Linked DNA regions of Homo sapiens: regions 1, 2, 3 and 4 are each linked to region 5. The links are contacts of gene promoters, found by promoter capture Hi-C in blood cells and fetal thymus (Javierre and others, 2016). All regions are on one chromosome and are shown on one strand. The core of a region is centred on a gene start or on the middle of the fragment in contact, and the rest is flanking DNA. Distances in the headings are between cores, read along the strand shown. Region 1 overlaps SKA2 (spindle and kinetochore associated complex subunit 2). Region 2 overlaps PPM1E (protein phosphatase, Mg2+/Mn2+ dependent 1E). Region 3 overlaps TRIM37 (tripartite motif containing 37). Region 4 has its middle 120 kb from the start of TRIM37. Region 5 holds the start of TEX14 (testis expressed 14, intercellular bridge forming factor).

What was found. The method cuts DNA at HindIII sites, captures the fragments that hold promoters and counts their contacts. A CHiCAGO score of 5 or more calls a contact.
Region 1: a fragment that was not itself captured here is called in contact with the fragment with the promoter of TEX14 in region 5 in 1 of 17 cell types (M1 macrophages); the score reaches 5.1 in M1 macrophages.
Region 2: a fragment that was not itself captured here is called in contact with the fragment with the promoter of TEX14 in region 5 in 1 of 17 cell types (endothelial precursors); the score reaches 5.0 in endothelial precursors.
Region 3: a fragment that was not itself captured here is called in contact with the fragment with the promoter of TEX14 in region 5 in 3 of 17 cell types (M1 macrophages, M0 macrophages and activated CD4 T cells); the score reaches 7.7 in M1 macrophages.
Region 4: a fragment that was not itself captured here is called in contact with the fragment with the promoter of TEX14 in region 5 in 8 of 17 cell types (endothelial precursors, megakaryocytes, monocytes and 5 more); the score reaches 7.1 in endothelial precursors.

Annotation. Positions count from the first base shown.
Region 1 is chr17:59,111,932-59,114,631 of GRCh38, forward strand. It overlaps SKA2 (spindle and kinetochore associated complex subunit 2), which reads right to left. Exons shown (of 4, transcript NM_182620.4): 4 at 1-414. The coding sequence ends at 346. It overlaps LOC124904039 (a long non-coding RNA gene), which reads left to right. Exons shown (of 2, transcript XR_007065864.1): 2 at 2,023-2,700. Among named protein-coding and RNA genes, the nearest start is that of TRIM37, 6.4 kb to the left of the region's middle. The HindIII fragment of the contact is 1,611 bases long and covers 513-2,123 here.
Region 2 is chr17:58,969,420-58,972,119 of GRCh38, forward strand. PPM1E (protein phosphatase, Mg2+/Mn2+ dependent 1E) reads left to right here. Exons shown (of 7, transcript NM_014906.5): 4 at 120-308. It also overlaps a transcript of TRIM37 not described here. Among named protein-coding and RNA genes, the nearest start is that of TRIM37, 140 kb to the right of the region's middle. The HindIII fragment of the contact is 2,496 bases long and covers 134-2,629 here.
Region 3 is chr17:59,033,854-59,036,553 of GRCh38, forward strand. The region is part of intron 17 of TRIM37 (tripartite motif containing 37); the gene reads right to left. Among named protein-coding and RNA genes, the nearest start is that of TRIM37, 72 kb to the right of the region's middle. The HindIII fragment of the contact is 4,005 bases long and covers 1-2,700 here.
Region 4 is chr17:58,985,744-58,988,443 of GRCh38, forward strand. It overlaps a transcript of TRIM37 not described here. Among named protein-coding and RNA genes, the nearest start is that of TRIM37, 120 kb to the right of the region's middle. The HindIII fragment of the contact is 3,205 bases long and covers 1-2,700 here.
Region 5 is chr17:58,690,634-58,693,333 of GRCh38, forward strand. TEX14 (testis expressed 14, intercellular bridge forming factor) reads right to left here and starts at 1,412. Exons shown (of 32, transcript NM_031272.5): 1 at 1,306-1,412. IGBP1C (IGBP1 family member C) reads right to left here and starts at 1,412. Exons shown (of 2, transcript NM_001395966.1): 1 at 1,306-1,412. It overlaps RAD51C (RAD51 paralog C), which reads left to right and starts at 1,969. Exons shown (of 9, transcript NM_058216.3): 1 at 1,969-2,155. The coding sequence starts at 2,011. RefSeq lists enhancers at 1,727-1,826, 2,157-2,326. The HindIII fragment of the contact is 6,974 bases long and covers 1-2,700 here.

The DNA of each region.
Region 1 (2,700 bases), core at 68-2,567, 420 kb after region 5:
CCAGAACATCTATATTATCATGACTTAGAAAAAGAAAACAGATGCAAAATAGTGTTGAGAATTTCTGGCCTGAAATTACAAGACTAAGTGTGTGTGTGCATGCGTGTGTACATATATTTAAATCGTTTTATTCTCATTTGATCCTTTTGGCTGAACTTTATTCATATATTATCTGCCCTTCTTCTTATAATCTCTCTCATGAAAGATATCATTATCCAGTCATTGAAGCCAAACCCCCTTCACCAGCCCCCAATCTCTAGACATCAAGGGTTAACAAGACATCTTCCTAAATTTCTCCGGAATTAAGCTCTTCTCTGTTAGAATTTCCTTTCCAAGTCCATTTCTTCATAAATCTGGCATGTGAAATTTGAATTGCTCTGCCGCAGTTTTCTCTTCTTTAGTCAGTGGTGACAGCTAGAAAATAAATGATAAAATCTTTATTTCAAAAACTTTCAAAGACTTAAATCAGTTTAGTTAACTTCTGCATTGTCACACCAATAAATGTTTCCCTAAGCTTATACTATGTATGTAATCACAGATTTAGAAAGGCAAGGGAAAAAACAGATACTTGGCTATTTATATACAAGGTCCTATGATGTTTGAGCTTCTAAAGAACTTGCAATTAAGTTGAAGAAACAAGACCAAGAAATCAAACAATTTAAGGATTATAGCAGAACCAAAGAAGTCATGTTTGGATGCCATATTCTAAAAGTACAGTCAACCCTCAGTATCTGTGGGAGATTGATTCCAGGATAACAAAATCCACAGATGCTCAAGTCCCTTATATAAAACTGCGTAGTATTTGCATAGAAACTATACATATCCTCCTGTATACTTTAAATCATCTCTAGATTACTTATATACCTAATACAATGTAAATGCTATGTACATAATTGTTACACTGTATTGTGGAAGGAATAAATGATAAGGAAAAAAGTCTACAGATGTTCAGTACAGATACAACCATCTAATTTTTTTCCAAAATTTTTGTTTTCTATTTTTGAAACGGGGTCACTCTGTCGCCCAGGCTGGAGTGCAGTGGCACAATCATGGCTCCCTGCAGCCTCAACCTCCCATCTCAAGCAATCCTCCCACCTCAGCCTCCCGAGTAGCTAATTTTTAACTAATTAGTACACTAATTTTTAGCTGGGCATGGTGGCGCACACCTGTGGTCCCAGCTGCTCGGGAGGCTGTGGTGGGAGGATCACTTGAGCCTGGGAGGTCGAGACTGCAGTCAGCCCTGATGGTGCTACTGCACTCTAGCCTGGGCAGCAGAGCAAGACCTCATCTTAAGAAAAGAAAAAAGAGGCCGGACGCGGTGGCTCATGCCTTCTAATCCCAGCGCTTCGGGAGGCTGAGGCGGGTGGATCACTTGAGGTCAGGAGTTTGAGACCAGCCTGACCAACATGGTGAAACCCCATCTCTACTAAAAAACACAAAAATTAGCCAGGCATGGTGGTATGCACCTGTAATCCCAGCTACTCAGGAGGCTGAGTTGGGAGAATCCCTCGAACCTGGGAGGCGGAGGCTGCAGTGACCCAAGATCGCACCACTGAACTCCATCCAGCCTGGGTGACAGAGCAAGACTAAATCACACAAAAAAAGAAAGAGGCCGGGCACAGTGGCTCATGCCTGTAATCCCAGCACTTTAGGAGGCTGAGGTGGGTGGATCACCTGAGGTCAGGAGTTTGAGACCAGCCTGACCAACATGGTGGAACCTCATCTCTACTAAAAATACAAAAAAATTAGCTGGGCATGGTGGCAGGCACCTGTAATCCTAGCTACTCGGGAGGTTGAGGCAGGAGAATTGCTTGAACCCGGGAGGTGGAGGTTACAGTGAGCCAAGATTACGCCATTGCACTCCAGCCTGGGCGACAAGAGTGAAACTCTGTCTCAAAAAAAAAAAAAAGATAAAGGAAAATGTATTATCATTCCACAATAACTTCAGAAAAAGGAAAGACTTCTGGGCTGACTTATTTAGCAACTGAACAATGTAAGGACTCCATTTTTTCCATCTCACAGCTCTAATATCCTGGATAGTGCCTTTACCCTCAAGCTGACAGCAAATGGCTTTAACGGTGCTAGGTATCACAACTCTACACAATGTCCAGAAGAAGAAAAGAAGCTTTCTCTTCTCAGGGTTCTCTCAGCAGTGAGTAAAGTCTTCCTAGTAACCTACTTCCAGACTATCCTTACTCACATGTCATTTGGGTTACAAACCCATTCCTCAACCACTGTTAGTTAAAAAATAAAGTCCATTCCCTATGCCAATCAGATGCACCCCTGGAGCTGAGGATGGGGCCAGATTCATCTCAGGCACATCGCTATGAGGGACAACACACATCTCAAGAAAGTCAGTATAGTCATGTGTCACTTAATGACAGGAATACGTTCTGAGAAATGCATCGTTAGGCAGTTTCATCGTGTGAACATCACAGACTGTACTTACACAAACAGGGATTGTATATATACACTCAGGCTATATGGTATAGCCTACTGCTCCTGGGCTACAAATCTGTACAGCATGTTACTGTACTGAATACCGTAGGCAGTGGTAACACATGGTATTTTTATATCTAAACATCTGAACATAAGAGTACAGTAAAAATACGCTATTATAATCTTCTGGGACCACTGTCATATATATTTGGTCCATTGTTGACCAAAACGTCATTATGCACTGCATGTCTATATTCTGGT
Region 2 (2,700 bases), core at 132-2,631, 280 kb after region 5:
TATTCTGAATGACAAATGCAGTGGAGGAGAAAGGATGGGCAACAATGATGCCAGGAGATTGGTTCATTTGAATCATGCTATACCCAACTCCCATAACTGTTCTGTGTTTCTGTTGACAGGACCAGGAAGAACAAGCTTACTTTGCAGTGTTTGATGGCCATGGGGGAGTAGATGCTGCTATTTATGCCTCCATTCACCTCCACGTTAACTTAGTCCGCCAGGAGATGTTCCCCCATGATCCTGCTGAGGCCCTGTGCAGGGCCTTCCGGGTCACTGATGAGCGGTTTGTGCAGAAAGCAGCCAGGGAGGTATGCCCCTTTCTCATAAGTTCCAGCTAGAAATGTACTAGCTGAGCTCAATTTGGTCTGTGTGGTTAAAGGGCTATTTAGATTTTCTCTTTCTGGGCAGACATTATCCAAACTGTATTCTTGACTCACAGTATTGGATTCTGTTGTAGTTCCAATTCCCTCCTCAGGAAGAGTTTCAGGGGGTACAATGAGGTACTGTATAGAAAATCTCAAGCTGTAATTTTCTGGATTCATTTCTGTAATAACTGCTGGATTTGGCAGGTGAGTTTCATCTTTCTTTTATTCACCATTGCCTGTCAGGTTCACACCAGGACCATCTCTCTAAGCAGACTCTTGCTGACAAGATCTGGATATGGTGAATAAAACAATGGTCTAAAAAAGAAACAGAAACTGGGATTACTTCCATACATTTGGTTCTAAATGGGTAGGCAGTGTTTTGCTGTGTATCTCTTGAGGGAAAATTCGCTTGGAGAGGGTGAATCCTTAAATGATCCTTGAGCTGATTTTTCTCTTAATAGGGAGAAAAGAAGAGCTCATGTCCTACATTGCGAAGGTTAATCAGACCTAAGTTTTTTTTACTTTGAATAAATGGCAAGGGCTCTATATTAAGGTCTAAAAGTAAAAAAATTAATCTAATTATCGTTCTGGGTATTGGTACATAATTAACTACAGTGTTCTATATTGGATTTTTAACTGGGGACGAATAAAAGAATTTTTAATTTTTAAAAATAATTACAGAAGTAGATACAGACAAAAAATAAGACTCCTGCCCTGTGACTTAAACATTAACTCTTTTTAAAATGGGCTTGGAGAGATCAGGGTAATCATTTAATCCATTTTTTGATAGCATAGTTATGCTACAAGCAATAATGGGGCTTAGAATTAATGAAACAATAACTCAGACCTATTTGGTATTAAGAAAGAGAATTATTCTTCATCTCTCCCCTCCCCTAAGTTTGGATTAATATGCAAATCCAACAGTAACCAGTAGAGTCCACACAAAGAGGTGGGTCTGGAGAATAAAGCCACTCTTGACCTCAGAGCTCCAGTCTCTTGAGGACCTGCATTCTGCTTGGCTCTGCCTCTCTTGAAGCTGTGGGCTTTTATCATCTGAGTCGAGGACAAGGGCCGGCCCCTGAGAGGTGACCCGTAATCATCAATGTGAAACAAAGAGATTCACTCTGTCTTCTTCATCCTCTATTCTATTCTTTTTTTCCTCTGTCTTCTCAAAATTATGTGTTGTTGTTGTTGTTGTTGTTTTCTGACCATGTTTACCTCATTTGTTTTGTCAGTGACCCTGGTGTCTCTCAGTTCTGCCAATAGTTCTGAATAATTTAGGTTTGTCTCAGCGCCCCTTTTCTCCTTCTTATGCTTCCATGTGCTGCTAACTGCTGGGAAGAAAACAGCTATTCCTGTTATGAAGCAGCCCTGCCTCCTGTTCTCTCCAGGGCATATGCACTGAAGTGTGTTTATCATGTGTTCTAGGGGGCTGAGTTTTTGAACATTCTGTGTGGGAAGACATTTTATTGGTGGGTGAGGATTTATAACAAACTTTCCCTATATAGGGAAAACGAGAAGTTGTTTTTCTCATTGGATACAAGAGACCTTTTACCACCCCTGACGCATTGGTTCTAATTTAGGCCAGGTCCTTAGTAACAGAAAGTCATGCTCATTTGGTGGTGACTCATGTCAAATGGGGATGTCATTTTCGTATAGTAGGACCAAGAGCTTTAAGTACAGTCGTAGCTACTGCAGTGAAATTCCAGGCTGTTAGTTCTTTATGCAATGTTCCAAAAGCAAAGACCCCTAAAAATACTGTAGGAAGGATATTTTTTTAAAGGTATAAGCATCTTAGTACTCCAGGGAACGTAAGCTGTCTCTTGGCCCCTTAGCTTAATTTCCAGAGATTAGAGCATCTGTTGTGTACCAATCAGATGTTTTATATATCATTTTATACAGCTAGGACTCTCCCACTGAACAAATACGATGTCAGTAATGAAATGGAGAGCAGAATATAGAAATTTTTACTCTGAGGATTGGTATAGAGGATTTAGTGCTTGACTGGGAGGAAAAAGAATTTCAATTCTGTCTTATATACTAATAGTTACCTGCCCTTGGGCAAGTCACATAACCTGCCATAGTTTTCTTATCTATATTTAAAGTGGAATTAATAATCATCCTCGCCCTGCATATCACAGATCAGGTGGACTTATGTGTGTATATACACATAAATACATACATGCATATACAAATGCATTGAGACAATGAATTATTATATATGTGTGAAATTCCATTATTAATAGTATAGCTCCCAGCTGAAAAGCTTAATTATAAATTGCTTCTCAATAAGAATGTAGTATCTATTTCTTTTCACTGAGTCTAGTTTTATTTA
Region 3 (2,700 bases), core at 160-2,659, 340 kb after region 5:
ACGCCTGTTATCCCAGCACTTTGGGAGGCCAAGGTGTGCAGATCACCTGAGGTCAAGAGTTAGAGACCAGCCTTGCCAACATGGTGAAACCAAAATACAAAAGAATAGCCAGGTGTGGTGGCAGGCACCTGTAATCCCAGCTACTCGGGAGGCTGAGGCAGGAGAATTGCTTGAACCTGGGAGGCAGAGGTTACAGTGAGCCAAGATCACACCACTGCACTCTAGTCTGGTTGACAGAGTGAGACTCCATCTCAAAAAAAAAAAAAGGATACGGAGGTGAGATCCAGGACTTTTTCCCAAAAAGCTACTCAGATCGTTCTTATGTATAGTTAAGTCCAGTAGCCCAGTGAATGGAATCTATTGCCCTAATATCTGATTCTCCTTTAAAAATGTAAGTTGCTCATTCTTCCATGTTAAAGGCACTTACAGTAGAGAAAGCGGTGTCTCCTGTTTCTCACTGCTTTTTCAGGCCATTATTCTCACTACTGAACAAAAACTGCTTTTTTTTTTAATGTGGGTATGACCTTTGGCTACTCCCCTTTCAAATGTTCCCAGCTTTCTTTTCTTTTTTGTTTTTTTGAGACGGAGTCTTGCCTCCCAGGTTCAAGCAATTCTCCTGCCTCAGCCTCCCTAGTAGCTGGGATTACAGGCATGCAGCACCATGCCTGGCTAATTTTGTATTTTTAGTAGAGACGGGGTTTCTCCATGTTGGTTAGGCTGGCCTTAGAACTCCCGACCTCAGGTGATTGGCCCGCCTCAGCCTCCGAAAGTGCTGGGATTACAGGCAGGAGCCATGGTGCCCGGCCTATGTTCCCACCTTTCTACCCACTATCACATTTCCCCACAGGCATCAAAGACTTTGGGTTGGCACTGATTTCAGTTTCTCTCTTTCCAAGCTATTCTGTGTGTCTCATATATAAATGTACATCCCAATGAATGCTCACAAAGTGATCACACCCAGATGAAGAAATATATTATCAGTACCCCAGAACCCCCTCCTATGCCTCCTAAAATTGCTCACTACTCCTACTCTACAAAAATAACCTTCATCCTAACTTAAATTACAGATGGGTTTTGCCTGTTTTGTATTTGTATAAAAGTAGTAACAGAGTATGCTCTTATGCTCTTCTTCTTTGGTCAACATTATTCATGAGATTCATCTATATGGCTGTATATAGAAGTATCTTATTCATTTTCTTTTTAAATATTTTTCTTTTTTTCTTTGAGACAAAGTCTTGCTTTGTCACCCAGGCTGGAGTACAGTGGCACAATCTTGGCTCACCGCAACTTCCACCTCCCAGTTTCAAATGATTCTTGTGCCTCAGCCTCCCGAGTAGCTGGGGTTACAAGCGTGCGCCATTGCACCAAGCTAATTTTTTCTACTTTCAGTAGAAATGAGGTTTCGCCATGTTGGCCAGGCTGGTCTTGAACTCCTGGCCTCAAGTGATCCACATGCCTCAGCCTCCCAAAGTGCTGGGATTAGAGACATGAGCCACTGCCTCATTTTCATTATTATTGTGCAGCATCCATTTATGAATATATCCAATTTATTTCTTTATTCTATTGGAAAACAATTTGGGTTGCTTCTAGCTTTTGGCTATTAAGAATAAAGCTATACAGCCAGGCGCGGTGGTTCACGCCTGTAATCCCAGCACTTTCAGAGGCCGAGGCAGGTGGATTACGAGGTCAGGAGTTCAAGACCAGCCTGGCCACAATGGTGAAACCGTCTCTACTAAAAATACAAAAATTAGCTGGCCGTGGTGGAGGGCACCTGTAATCCCAGCTACTCGGGAGGCTGAGGCAGAATTGCTTGAACCCAGGAGGCAGAGGTTGCAGTGAGCTGAGATCGTGCCACTGCATTCCAGCTTGGGCAACAGAGCGAGATTCAAAAAAACAAAAAAACAAAAAACCAAAAAAACAAAAAAACAACAAAAACCATGCTTCTGAAGTTCACATAGAAAAAAAACCTCATAAAAAGACAGACGGATCGGTGACAGGTTCTTCTCCATTTGTGCCAAGCCATATGGATCTTGCTAAAATGTCACACTTATATACTTGAGTTCATTACAGCATACTGCCTGTATGCATTATCATGACACTCAAGGCCCTATTATAGTCTAGTCTCAAACTACCTTTCCAGAATATTCTACATTTTCACATCCTTCACTTTGTTACAAATTACATACCGATATTTACCATCACAAAATCTTGTAATGATCAGTGCTGGATTTTCATTTAAAAATTATGCTCATTCATTCTTCTAACATCTGTGGTCCAGGTGCAATAGCTCACGCCTATAATCCCAACACTTTGGGAGGCTGAGGCAGGAGGACTAATTGAGGCCAGGAGTTGGAGACCAGCCAGGGCAAGAGAGCAAGACTCCGTCTCTATAAAAAATTAGTTGGGCGTGGTAGCATCTGCAGACGTCTTCTTATGAGAACTGCTTTTAGTTTATTCAGTTATTTGAAGTTAAATGAAAGACAATTTATGTTAAAAAAAATTTGTGCTAAAAAGGTTTTAAGTATCATTCTAATCCAGATTATTGGCTCATTGAATCCAGTGAGTAGGAAAAATCTAGTTTGTATTTGCTGGGGGTGTGTGTGTGTGTGTGTGTGTGTGTGTGTGTGTGTGCACGCGTGTGTTTTAAGAGACAGGGTCTTGCTCTGTCACCCAGGCTGGAGTACGGTGGCAGAATCATGG
Region 4 (2,700 bases), core at 125-2,624, 300 kb after region 5:
TCCTGCCTACCAGTAAAGAAGGCCTTTACAATTAATTTTACATAGTTTCAAAAATCTTCAACTCCTAATTCCCTAAATTCATTCAGTCCTTGGCATGACTTTATATAGAACCAAATGAACAATTGAGAAAAAAAAGGTGAAGTTTTGAAAGAAGGACATATTTGAAGGGGTTTACTGAAGCAGGGAATGACAGAAAAGGAACATTTTGATTAGTAAGTGTTACACTTGAAAAAATTCCCTAAAATATAGTATTACTTAGATCAAAAGGAACACCTCTTTCTGAAGGAGCAGCACACAGCAAGACAGAAGGGAACCACTAGGTACAGTAAAATCATTTGAACATCATAGAAATTTACCCAAGTTACCAAATTATCAGAAACAACTGTCTGTACTGACAAGCTGCATAACTGAGCATTCCCCCCCACACCCGCCCCCTGTTGCTGTCAGTGTGCATCATTTCCTTTCCTTCTTTTGAGATGGAGTTTCATTCTGTCACCCAGGCCGGAGTGCAGTGACGTGATCTTGGCTCACCACAACCTCTGCCTCCCAGGTTCAAGCGATTTTCCTGCCTCAATCTCCCAAGTAGCTGGGATTACAGGCGCCCGCCACCACACCCAGCTCATTTTATTATTATTAGTGGAGGTGGGGTTTCACCATGTTGGCCAGGCTGGTCTCGAACTCCTGACCTCAGATGATCCACCCTCCCACCTCGGCCTCCCTAAGTGCATCATTTTCTTTTTGATTGCAAGTTTCCATCTGTCTTTTTTTTTTTTTTTTTTCTTTTTTGAGACAAGAGTCCTGCTGTGTCACCCTGGCTGGAGTGCAGTGGTGCAATCTCGGCTCACTGCAACCTCTGCCTCCCAGGTTCAAGCAATTCTTGTGCCTCAGCCTCCCAGGATGCTGGGATTACAGGCGTCGGCCACCACGCCTGGCTTTTGTGTTTTTAGTAGAGACGGGGTTTTGCCATGTTGGCCAGACTGGTCTTGAACACCTGACCTCAAGTGATCTGCCTGCCTTGGCCTCCCCAAGTGCTGGGATTTACAGGTGTGAGACACCACGCCCAGCCCCATCTGTCATCTTAACAGCAATTAGTAAAGAACACTTTTTCTATTGTGCTTTAGGGAACCTCCTTTTGCTTGGCCTAGGAATAACCTTATGGAAGATCCCTTACTTACATTTAAAACAAGTCACATTCTTTTCTGAGAGCCCCAACTGTTGAATATGTTTAGTAAGAAGCGCTCTTCCCTGGGCAGTTGGTTGAGCCTGCCTCTTATGCTGAGCTGTAGGATGCTGCCCCAGTCACGCAACCTCCAGATGAAGTGTGTCCTCTCCTCATTGTGCAAACAAGGGCCCTCACACACAGGTTCTATTTGATTTTTATAATCTTGCTTTAGGACCAGGGAAACAAATGTGAAAAACTGTCAAGAATGATACACATTTGGGGAAACCATTTTCCAAATGAGTAACTGGAGTTTAACTAAAGATGATGAAAAAGTTGTCCCTGCTAGTCATTACATTGAGTAGTATGACAGCTACAGGATTAGGGGTGGCCAATTAAGCCAAATCGAGTTGCTACGGGTTCACTAGGTCAAATGAAACCCAGTGGGAGGTGAGCCTATGCAGCAGCCTTTCCCAAATGCACACCAGGAGACACTGACTGACCTGAAGGTCTCGGGCAAGGACTCTGGCCCGCAGGGTCTGCAGAGCAGGAATGGAAGGGAGACTCCCGGTCAACATGCCAGCCAGAGAAAAGGATTTTAGAAAGAGAGCAGCCCGTACTACTGATGTCCCAAACTACACTGTGGCTAATCTTACCATTTGCTCTTAAGCATCCCTAAGCAGAGTTCTAAAACTTCTATAAATCTAGACTATGAAGGCATGTATTGGTAGATGTGAGAATGAGAGGTAGAATGAGGAGAAATCTAAAAATATTACCACATAAAAATTCAAATGAATATGCAAAAAAGAAAATAGCTCTTGGGGTTTTCTATTTCCCAAATTTTTCTAATCTTATCACCTTTATAATTCAAACATTTAAAAAACTAGATAAAAAAATTAAAAATGGCTCATTTTCTGAATTCTGGTTTTAGGATTAATTACACTCATGTTTTACATTCAATAAAATGTGTGTTTTACATATATACATTTTTAAATCACAGCACTTCCAGCTTCCACTCCGGGATGTAGGGGTAGAAGGAGCATTTCTTCTACTCTTACAATGCAAACGAGCCAGATGAACTATAAATTAGGACATTTTTTCGAATCCATTGGAAAGCTGAGGTTGCAGAGTAACCAAGTGGCACCAAATGGAGAGGGGCAGTTGCCTGCAAGGGGAGAGAAGACATTAGCACTAGTTTCGTAGGGTCGTTGTAAACAGACACTGGAAAGAATAGGCTAGCTAAAAGTGATGATTGGTGAAGGCAGAATATGGGCTGCAGGAGTGTTAAGACCCGGGGGCCTGCAGAAACTAGGGGAGTCGCCCTATCTTGCAGGCTTTTTCTTTACAATCTCTACCAGGGGCTCAGAAAATACTGTAAAGAGCCCTAAGAAGTGTCGGCTGTGACACACACCCAGGGGAGTATACAGCGGCCTTGGGCATGGGTAAAGGAACTTACCATACCCTTTCTCTCATCTCACAGAACAAAAGCACCCTATGAGGGAAAAGGAGCACAAATACTGTTGCCGTCTGGACACTGGTGA
Region 5 (2,700 bases), core at 162-2,661:
AAGATAGTATTTATGCATCCACTGAGCGCTCAAATATAGACCATATTAGAAGTTAAGCAATGGGTTGAGTGGCCAACCACATTTTGGCCAGTCCTACAAGACTTTCTTTGACCTACCAAATGGGGTATAAATGCTTCTCGTATTCTCCCCGCCAGTAGGGACTCAAAATCTTAATAGCTCGGGGTAGTAAAAAGGATGCTAGGTTTGAATCTTGGCTTTAAGAAAACTGTGCTGAGGTGTTTTGTTTGTTTGAGACAGGGTTTCACTCTATCACCCAAGCTGGAGTGCAGTGGCGTGATCATAGCTCACTCCCAGGCTGAAGGGATCCTCCCACCACAGACTTCTGAGTAGCTGGGACGACCGGTGCATGCCACCATGCCCGGCTAATTTTTTGTACTTTTGGTACAGACAGTGTTTCGCCATGTTGTCGAGGCTGGTCTCAAACTCATGAGCTCAAAGAGATCCACCTGCCTCGACCTCCCAAAGTGCTGGGATTACAGGCACGAGCCACTGCGCCCGGCCAGCTTTTTTTCTTTTATCAGAATTGATATTAAACTATATGCTGAGCTTCCATGTCCTTATCTTCCTTTTGGCATGGCTATGGCCATTTGAAATGTGTGGGATTTGCTAAAGTGCTCAACATACGTTGTTTCCTTTTTTAGATCTAAGTATGTAGAGGGCTCTGATTTGCAATATTTAGAAAGTTCTTCTAAGCTGGGAAGAAAAGTCAAGACTAAGAATCATTGCCAACAGGGCCGGGCGCGGTGGCTCACGCCTGTACTCCCAGCATTTTGGGAGGCCGAGGCAGGCGGATCACGAGGTCAGGAGTTCGAGACCAGCCTGGCCAATATGGTGAAACCCCTTCTCTAATAATAATACAAAAATTAGCCGGGCATGGTGGCGTGCGCCTGTAATCCCAGGTACTCAAGAGGCTGAGGCAGGAGACTCACTTGAACCCGGGAGGCGAAGGTTGCAGTGAGCCGACATCGTGCCACTGCACTCCATCATGGGCAACACAGTGAGACTCTGTCTCAAAAAAAAAAAAAAAAAAATCGCCAATAGGTAGGGAATAAGTTACCCCCTGCTAAATAAGTTACACTCACCTAGGCAAGGAAGGAACTCATAAACCACCTTCTAAACTGCTTGCCTTCCTCCCCGAAGTTCTGTAATTTAGAGGCGGTCACTACCACTGCTTGAACACCCCTTCCCAAGTCTGTACCACAAAAGGAGCTCTTGTGTAGCCCAGCCCCTCCTTCTCAGGACCCCAGGAGCCCAGACACACTAATGGGGACATTAGTTGCTTACTTTTCCAGCTACTGCTTAAGCTAGGCAGGCCATGAAGAAATAACGGTCTCAGTAACCTCCATGCTCGGGATACGACTCCCGGGAAGACGTGGGTGGGTGCGGGGAATGCGGACTGATCCCTCCCAGCGGCCGTTGGGGGCTGGCCCACAATCCCTCGCGAGGGCGGGAAAAGCAATGTGGTCGTTGCGGGGGGGGGGGGTCAGAAAAGGGGGACGGTCAGCGGGAAGAGCCAAGAGACTGCAACTCTACAAAGAGCACGCAGATTAATTCTAATGATTGTTCCCTGAGCTTTTCACACCAAAATAATGGTAACTGGCTAGTGTGTGCCCGTTACGCTCACTACTCCCACTCGAGATCATTCCTATTAATGACTCTGAGGCTTCACCTAACAGGCCACGGTGGAGGCAAGGAAATGTGGCGTGGAGAACCCACTGGGCCTGGCTCTCCGTCCTATGGTCTCCGTCCATCGTTTTACAGTCAGGGTGTACATTTGATGAGGAATCTCTAAATGGGATTTTGGGGAATCAAAACGGAATGGTGCATAAGTGTGAAAATTTACAAGACTGCGCAAAGCTGCAAGGCCCGGAGCCCCGTGCGGCCAGGCCGCAGAGCCGGCCCCTTCCGCTTTACGTCTGACGTCACGCCGCACGCCCCAGCGAGGGCGTGCGGAGTTTGGCTGCTCCGGGGTTAGCAGGTGAGCCTGCGATGCGCGGGAAGACGTTCCGCTTTGAAATGCAGCGGGATTTGGTGAGTTTCCCGCTGTCTCCAGCGGTGCGGGTGAAGCTGGTGTCTGCGGGGTTCCAGACTGCTGAGGAACTCCTAGAGGTGAAACCCTCCGAGCTTAGCAAAGGTAACGACTCCTGATGGCAAGCTGAGGCACACCGGCCGCCGTCAGCGCCGCCTCAGTCTTCGTTCTCTCGCCTCGGCCTTCAGCCCAGTCTCCGTTAGATTCTGCTTCCTCCCACGTCCATGTTTACAGCGTGAAAGAGCTCCTCGACTCCACTTACAAGTTGTCTGAATGGTTAGGAGAACTGTGGTCGTGAAAACATTTACTAATTGCTTTTCCTCTGGCAATGCCTGCTGAATGCTTTGAGGATTGTCTCATTTAACCCTCAACCCGCTTACGTAGATTATTATATTCAGTATATGGATGAGAGAACTGATATCTTGGGGAGCTTAGGTAACTTTTCATGCTAACTGGGTTAGGAAATACTGGAGTCAGAATTGGTTGTCTAATTTTTGCTGTTCCAAGATCCAAGGGGTAAGGGTTAAATTTCAGAAATGCAGGATTTTGTGTAGGACTAGAGACACTAAGAATGAGAAAGAGAGTAGAATCCCCGGAATCTTGAGGAAGCATAGAAAGAATATTCTCTTACGTAATTAACTGAAACACCC